3 separate regions of the Homo sapiens genome follow, and regions 1 and 3 are each linked to region 2. The links are contacts of gene promoters, found by promoter capture Hi-C in blood cells and fetal thymus (Javierre and others, 2016). All regions are on one chromosome and are shown on one strand. Each heading gives the region's core, a stretch centred on a gene start or on the middle of the fragment in contact. The rest is flanking DNA. Distances are from core to core; before and after follow the strand shown.

Region 1 (2,816 bases), core at 47-2,546, 190 kb before region 2:
TGCAGATTACATCATTATATATCTCTAAAATCCATATAAATCAATTGAAAAGCTGTTAGAAATAATATGACTAAGTACCTGGTTATAAAGTTAGTTATACAAAAATTAATAGGCTTTTTCTGTACATAAATATAATGGGATGAATTGATCAATTTCAAGTCTGATTGGCTGGATGATTTTTTTTTCCTCTGCAAACCAGACCTTCTCTGCCTCTGAGCAGTGGTCTGTAACAGGATGAATTTCTGTTGGATCAGCTGAAGTGGTGGCTTGGGCAGTGAGGCAATTCTTCATCAAGACATACCTTTTTGTTGCTTCTAATTACCTGCTGGCAGGAACTAAAAGTGTGTCTCTTGTATGCATGCCATGTGTGTAAAATTAGAGTCTTTGAAATTGTTCAAATAAAGAGGATTAGTTATAGTTGTAGGGAGATATAAAGACTAAGCCAAAAGAAGCAGAGTTTATCTGCCTTCACACTTCACCCATCTGTTAACCCGGCTGAGACACATTTTCTTGTAGCATTAGTATTTTATGCACTGTTTTTCTTGATATAGTAACAGATTTAATTCATTCTTTATGGTAATAGATCCCTTGTATCCATAAAGAAAGAACATATTCCATCATTACCTTAATATCATGTCTAATACAGAGTGGCCGTACAATTGGAAAGTTATTTCTCAGACCACTAAACTTACACATAAATGTTAAACACTGTATATTACTTTTAAGCTTACTTTTGATCTGCTATCAAACCTAAGAAGTTGTTTTATTTTGATTAACTCTATATAATAGTTAATTTTTTTCCTCTAAAATGTGTTTTAAAGGCTGAAGCTGTATTTGACATCATTTTTAAAGCTATGTGATTTATTCTTTTTTATTCTCCACTGTCAAATATACATATTTGAAGATATGTATGGTAATACCATTTTCAAGCACTAGCTAGTTTAAGGAGCATAGAGCATGGTAAGTGATATAAAACTTCATTCACCCATAAACCCCAAACCCCTAGTACTGAATGCCCACATATATCATCCTTACTATCAGAGAAATTATGTTTATAACATATGCTGAGTTCAAGACCAGCCTGGGCAACATGGCAAAATCCCACCTCTATGAAAAAATATGAAAATCAGCCAGGTGTGGTGGCGCACCTGTAGTCCCAGCTACCTGGGGGGCTGAGATGGGAGGATAACCTGAGCCCTGGCAGGTCAAGGCTGCAGTGAGCCATGATTGTGCCACTGCATTCCAGCCTGGGTGACAGAGTGAGACCCTGTCTCAAAAAAAAACAAAAGAGAAAAGCATTCAGCTTTTTGCTTCCTACATGTATGTCACCACATAAACAAAGGAAAGTGAGACTCAAGTTACCGTAAAAGAGTCCTTCACTGGAAGCAAATCCTCAACTGTTTTAGAAAAATGAGTTTATGATCATTATTATTTTGCTAAAAGGATTCTTTATTTCATCACAGGAACCTTCTACTAACCCCCTTTAGTCTAAAAAAGCTCTAATCTATAAAAATTAAAAATATATAGATCAATTTGATCCTTATAGTTTATCCATCCAATAATTTTTTGGTTAATATTTGCATGGCAGATAAATCTTTACTTCCCTTATTTCTACCTCCTGTATTGAGTGCTCAATCAACTTTTAAATAAATTATCACATGTATATATACATAATAAGATTACTTAACATTCCTATGTTGAATTTTGAATTTGTTTCATTTGTTCATTCATTCTTACATCCAACAGATATGGATTGCAAACCTACTACATGGCAAGCATAAGTGCCCCGGGGTTATGGCAGTGAACAAAATTCTTATCCTCATACAGTTTATCTTCTGATTTGGTGGATATGAGAAACTGGTGAACTTAAGCTTAAAATCAATCAGATGCTGAGTTTGTTATTAAAAAACAGAAAAGAGAGCTCAGGTTAAATACATGCACTAGCTAATCTAAATCTTTCTTGGAAGTAGACTTGGTACTAGTCTCTCAATTATCAATCATTTGGGCATTCTGTGATGATTTTATTATATCCTTAATTGCATTGCAGAAATGGAAAAAAAATTATCTCTTCCAATTGCCGTTCCCATCTGATGAGTCCTTCATGGGAGCAACAAGCAGCTGATTTGCCATCAGCTTTGTACCAGTGTAGGGGCTATTTTGGCAACAACATATGCTTTGGTGTCAGAGTAACTGACCTTCGAATCTTAGCTCTTACTATGATATTGGGCTAGTTACTTGATTTCTCTGAGCCCATTCTTCCATCTGTTAAACAGGCATATTAATCCTGCTTTAAAGGAGTATAATTCAGATTAATGAAATAATCGGTGTATAGTACCTGGCAGGTCAGAGCTCCCCTACCCAAGGTCCCCATTTAGTGGCAGAGCCAGGATTAGATCCCACATCACCTCACTCTGGTGCCAGTCCTTGTCTCGTACCATGTTTACATTTAATAATCTCTGGTGATTTTACTCACATGACGAGACAATAGATTTATTCATCATTTATTAAGAAGACATTGAGTTCTTTGCTGTGCTGCCTCTTTGACCTCTCTGGGCCAAAAATGAGGGAGTTGTATGAGGCTCCAGGGTCTCTTTTAACCATGCACTTCTATGACTCTATGCAGGGTGGCCAACTGTCTTGATTTGCCTCAGACTCAGGGGTTTCCCTGAACAGGGACTTTCAGTACTAAAACTGGGAGAGTCAGAGAAAACTAGGATGGTTGTTCACCATAACTCCAGGATTCTTCCACATTTGGTTTATTCCATCAGCTTCCCTGATATACCTCTGAATACCCGAGATTGGACATAATCCTGCAA
Region 2 (2,700 bases), core at 196-2,695:
GAGAAATTCAGCTCGGGGAAGAGATTAGGGACTGGGGGAGACAGGTGGCTGCCTGTACTATAAGGAACCGCCAACGCCAGCATCTGTAGTCCAAGCAGGGCTGCTCTGTAAAGGCTTAGCAATTTTTTCTGTAGGCTTGCTGCACACGGTCTCTGGCTTTTCCCATCTGTAAAATGGGTGAATGCATCCGTACCTCAGCTACCTCCGTGAGGTGCTTCTCCAGTTCGGGCTTAATTCCTCATCGTCAAGAGTTTTCAGGTTTCAGAGCCAGCCTGCAATCGGTAAAACATGTCCCAACGCGGTCGCGAGTGGTTCCATCTCGCTGTCTGGCCCACAGCGTGGAGAAGCCTTGCCCAGGCCTGAAACTTCTCTTTGCAGTTCCAGAAAGCAGGCGACTGGGACGGAAGGCTCTTTGCTAACCTTTTACAGCGGAGCCCTGCTTGGACTACAGATGCCAGCGTTGCCCCTGCCCCAAGGCGTGTGGTGATCACAAAGACGACACTGAAAATACTTACTATCATCCGGCTCCCCTGCTAATAAATGGAGGGGTGTTTAACTACAGGCACGACCCTGCCCTTGTGCTAGCGCGGTTACCGTGCGGAAATAACTCGTCCCTGTACCCACACCATCCTCAACCTAAAGGAGAGTTGTGAATTCTTTCAAAACACTCTTCTGGAGTCCGTCCCCTCCCTCCTTGCCCGCCCTCTACCCCTCAAGTCCCTGCCCCCAGCTGGGGGCGCTACCGGCTGCCGTCGGAGCTGCAGCCACGGCCATCTCCTAGACGCGCGAGTAGAGCACCAAGATAGTGGGGACTTTGTGCCTGGGCATCGTTTACATTTGGGGCGCCAAATGCCCACGTGTTGATGAAACCAGTGAGATGGGAACAGGCGGCGGGAAACCAGACAGAGGAAGAGCTAGGGAGGAGACCCCAGCCCCGGATCCTGGGTCGCCAGGGTTTTCCGCGCGCATCCCAAAAGGTGCGGCTGCGTGGGGCATCAGGTTAGTTTGTTAGACTCTGCAGAGTCTCCAAACCATCCCATCCCCCAACCTGACTCTGTGGTGGCCGTATTTTTTACAGAAATTTGACCACGTTCCCTTTCTCCCTTGGTCCCAAGCGCGCTCAGCCCTCCCTCCATCCCCCTTGAGCCGCCCTTCTCCTCCCCCTCGCCTCCTCGGGTCCCTCCTCCAGTCCCTCCCCAAGAATCTCCCGGCCACGGGCGCCCATTGGTTGTGCGCAGGGAGGAGGCGTGTGCCCGGCCTGGCGAGTTTCATTGAGCGGAATTAGCCCGGATGACATCAGCTTCCCAGCCCCCCGGCGGGCCCAGCTCATTGGCGAGGCAGCCCCTCCAGGACACGCACATTGTTCCCCGCCCCCGCCCCCGCCACCGCTGCCGCCGTCGCCGCTGCCACCGGGCTATAAAAACCGGCCGAGCCCCTAAAGGTGCGGATGCTTATTATAGATCGACGCGACACCAGCGCCCGGTGCCAGGTTCTCCCCTGAGGCTTTTCGGAGCGAGCTCCTCAAATCGCATCCAGAGTAAGTGTCCCCGCCCCACAGCAGCCGCAGCCTAGATCCCAGGGACAGACTCTCCTCAACTCGGCTGTGACCCAGAATGCTCCGATACAGGGGGTCTGGATCCCTACTCTGCGGGCCATTTCTCCAGAGCGACTTTGCTCTTCTGTCCTCCCCACACTCACCGCTGCATCTCCCTCACCAAAAGCGAGAAGTCGGAGCGACAACAGCTCTTTCTGCCCAAGCCCCAGTCAGCTGGTGAGCTCCCCGTGGTCTCCAGATGCAGCACATGGACTCTGGGCCCCGCGCCGGCTCTGGGTGCATGTGCGTGTGCGTGTGTTTGCTGCGTGGTGTCGATGGAGATAAGGTGGATCCGTTTGAGGAACCAAATCATTAGTTCTCTATCTAGATCTCCATTCTCCCCAAAGAAAGGCCCTCACTTCCCACTCGTTTATTCCAGCCCGGGGGCTCAGTTTTCCCACACCTAACTGAAAGCCCGAAGCCTCTAGAATGCCACCCGCACCCCGAGGGTCACCAACGCTCCCTGAAATAACCTGTTGCATGAGAGCAGAGGGGAGATAGAGAGAGCTTAATTATAGGTACCCGCGTGCAGCTAAAAGGAGGGCCAGAGATAGTAGCGAGGGGGACGAGGAGCCACGGGCCACCTGTGCCGGGACCCCGCGCTGTGGTACTGCGGTGCAGGCGGGAGCAGCTTTTCTGTCTCTCACTGACTCACTCTCTCTCTCTCTCCCTCTCTCTCTCTCTCATTCTCTCTCTTTTCTCCTCCTCTCCTGGAAGTTTTCGGGTCCGAGGGAAGGAGGACCCTGCGAAAGCTGCGACGACTATCTTCCCCTGGGGCCATGGACTCGGACGCCAGCCTGGTGTCCAGCCGCCCGTCGTCGCCAGAGCCCGATGACCTTTTTCTGCCGGCCCGGAGTAAGGGCAGCAGCGGCAGCGCCTTCACTGGGGGCACCGTGTCCTCGTCCACCCCGAGTGACTGCCCGCCGGAGCTGAGCGCCGAGCTGCGCGGCGCTATGGGCTCTGCGGGCGCGCATCCTGGGGACAAGCTAGGAGGCAGTGGCTTCAAGTCATCCTCGTCCAGCACCTCGTCGTCTACGTCGTCGGCGGCTGCGTCGTCCACCAAGAAGGACAAGAAGCAAATGACAGAGCCGGAGCTGCAGCAGCTG
Region 3 (3,053 bases), core at 88-2,587, 170 kb after region 2:
GTTTTCTTTTAAGCATTATTAATTGCTTGATACCATTTAGGATCAGGAAACCCTTAGTGCAGTGAAAATTGTAAAAGTTTATGACCTGGGAGGCCCGTGTCTAGCCATGCCTCTGTCAGGAATCTGTGGTGTGACTTCTGACAAGAGTTTTATCCCTCTGGATCTGTTTCCTTGGCTGGAAAGTGAGGAAATCGATCCAAAGATTACCTCGCAGATTCTCTCCAACTCTGACATTCTATCATTTCACACTCACTTTAAAATAGACTGTCGGCGACCCTACGCCAGTTTTCCTTGAGAAACAGCGCCACCTTCAGGTCATAATAACCATAAGAGAGCTGACCGTGAAGGTGCTTCTCCGGCAGGAGCGATTTGCCCTGATCCACAGAAACCCTTCCCCCGCAGTCCTCTGGGATGCGGTCACACACTTGTGAGTCTGCCGCTGGGTTAAGATCAATGCGTATGGACATGGAGCCAAGCTGAGCTAACTGGCCCACAAGGGACAGATGCATGACCTTGGCCTAATTATCACAGCTCCAGCTAACAGTTCGCCCACAGCAAAGCTCCTTGTGGAACCCTATAAAGAAGGAAAGGAAGCGAGGGATATGCTGGATGAACTAAACTCTACAAAACAATGAAAATGGACACACCTCTTCTTCAGGCAATTCCACTTAAGATAGTTTCCAGCTGTTCTTATTTTAGCAAGATATCTACTTGGATATACTTTCATTAAGAAAAATGACATAGTGAACTCTGAAGTAAATATCAGATTTTTTTCACCCAGCAAATATTTATTGAGCAACCAACCACTTGAATGCCAGCACCGTGCTAAAAGCTCTCACAAAATTACTTTTATTGAATTTCCACAACAGCCCTTGTGAGAGAGGAATTCATATCTTCATTTTTCAACACAAGGAAGTTGAGAATGAGAGAGGCCCAGAAACAGCAGATCTGGCAACAAGCTTGAATATGCAGACACAAACATTCCACACAGTCCTCCTCTGAGGACACGACGCAACTGCTCCTTTTCAAGAGCTTATCACTTGGCACAGTGTGGCACCAACTGCAATCAGCAGTGCAGAGGCAAAGGCCGCTAGGGAACTCAGTTTATTTCTCTGCAGTGTGATCTGTATGCAGAAAATGGCCCTATCTTTGCCAGCCATCCTCTGCCATACCTCCCTAACCCACTGATGGATGCTGGGCAGGATAAGGGGGATAAGTTAATTTGTTCCTAAGTGTCTAAACAAGGATCCTTCTTAGAAACAGTGGATATTTAAGGTTGTCCCTTTGATCACATCCCAACAATCCCTAAATTCCATAGGCTTTCTTGGTTGGGAAAGAGGCAGAGCAACTGCTACCCATGGGAATGCATCATATTTGGAAATATAATGTTTCCTGTGCATTACAGAGGAGAGAAGTGGGAAGCATCGCCCGGTGCTGGAGGTACTCCAGCTACAGGTGGTACCCTCTATATCTTACTCTTTCCCGTACCTACATATGTGTAGTCAACTCCAGTTGATGAGATCAGGTTTTCAATTCTTTGTACCCCCCCACTGCACTTTGCAAAATACTGGCACATAAATTTAAAGTTACTAAATATTTGCTGGTGTGTTAGGAAAAACACATAGTCTGCATGCAGAAAACAGGAATTATACAAACTAGCATGATCAGACATATTTAAGATGTCAGCTGAGTTACTCTAGGGCAGAGCCCAAGGATGAAGCTTGGCTGAGGGAGGATAGGGGAAGTGCCTTGGGACCTTTAGATTATGGGTGGAAGGAACAAAAGACCCACATGGAACAAGACACTAGAGTTGGATTGACCCTTTGGGGAAGGAGAAGTTACGATATGACATCTAAACCGCAAGGAAGATGCCAGAAAAAGAAAGAATAATATATTGTGTAAGCAAGCAATTTCTTAATTTTAAACGTGTTTTTATATTCAGGTGAAATTGTTTTATTCAAGGTTGAATGACTACTAAGTTGCAGCTAATCAGAAGTTGAGAAAGAAATGCTTGGCAGTTGGAATCCAGTTTTTGCACATAATCAGAACCAGTACTGTCAGTTTCATGGCGTCTCAAAAGCTAAGACTGAGAAGGAAAAAGGGAACAGAGCCGGCCTTGTCACACCACAGACGGGAGCAGAAGTGCAGAACTGTCCCCATGGCATGTGTTCAAAAGAGTATCGTGTAGCAAACCCTAACCACAGCAGCAGTGGCTGAGCTAATCCTGGCTGGATCCCAGTAAGGCCCTTCTCGAGTCCCAGCAATGACGATGGTAGATTAGCAATCTCTTCTCAATGTGTCAATATCATCTATGTTTCTACCCTGCTAGCCTCCTCTTTTCCTTCTTTCTACCCCACCCTCAATTAACCATGCCTCCTCTTACAATTTCTAGTCTGCAAGAGACTAGGACAATAGAGAATCAAAAACTAGGGTAGAAACACAGAGGCTGCTGTGGTTAGCGCTTGCTGCGTGATAGATAGGTTTGGTTTTGTAGCAATAACACAAGGCGGAAAGTGATAGAAAATTCAACATTCTAACTGCAATTCACCAAATCTTATCTCCAGACTTGCGGTGTTTATAGTTTCAGCAACACAACCTGACTGCCAGGAGGAGAGTGAGGATAATAGCATGAATCCGACTGACAAGGAATATGTCTTGGAGAGCCGTGAACCATACCAGGAAGAGATTTTTTGCTTATAAGAGCATATTTGTTTGTGGGCTCTTTCCAGGAGCAATAGACTAAGTTGAAGATGTTTTATAAAAAGATAGTTTTATAGAACAGATATTAGGAAACTATTTTTTTATGATGACACACGGATCTTCAGCCTTGAGACTGTATCTTCCAGCCTGGTTGATCCTTCTGCACTGGTTGGTACACAGTCACTTCCCTGAATGTCCCCATCTCAATCCTCCCCACACTACCCTGTCCACTGAGTCCCACCCCAGGACCATCCCCAGCCCAGCCTCACAGTCCAGCATCCACAGGGTTAATGGCAGACACAGTAGAGAGCCGCAACAGTTGCTAAATATTGTCAATATCAACCCTGATTACA

The links. The method cuts DNA at HindIII sites, captures the fragments that hold promoters and counts their contacts. A CHiCAGO score of 5 or more calls a contact.
Region 1: a contact is called between a fragment that was not itself captured here and the fragment with the promoter of OLIG2 in region 2, in 3 of 17 cell types (M2 macrophages, M1 macrophages and naive CD4 T cells). The highest score is 6.3, in M2 macrophages.
Region 3: a fragment that was not itself captured here is called in contact with the fragment with the promoter of OLIG2 in region 2 in 2 of 17 cell types (M0 macrophages and M1 macrophages); the score reaches 7.0 in M0 macrophages.

The regions. Positions count from the first base shown.
Region 1 is chr21:32,837,027-32,839,842 of GRCh38, forward strand. No RefSeq gene overlaps it. Among named protein-coding and RNA genes, the nearest start is that of EPCIP, 25 kb to the left of the region's middle. The HindIII fragment of the contact is 1,145 bases long and covers 725-1,869 here.
Region 2 is chr21:33,024,490-33,027,189 of GRCh38, forward strand. It overlaps OLIG2 (oligodendrocyte transcription factor 2), which reads left to right and starts at 1,446. Exons shown (of 2, transcript NM_005806.4): 1 at 1,446-1,537; 2 at 2,312-2,700. The coding sequence starts at 2,374. RefSeq lists an enhancer at 1,275-2,177. The HindIII fragment of the contact is 3,945 bases long and covers 1-2,700 here.
Region 3 is chr21:33,196,746-33,199,798 of GRCh38, forward strand. No RefSeq gene overlaps it. Among named protein-coding and RNA genes, the nearest start is that of LINC01548, 28 kb to the left of the region's middle. The HindIII fragment of the contact is 761 bases long and covers 958-1,718 here.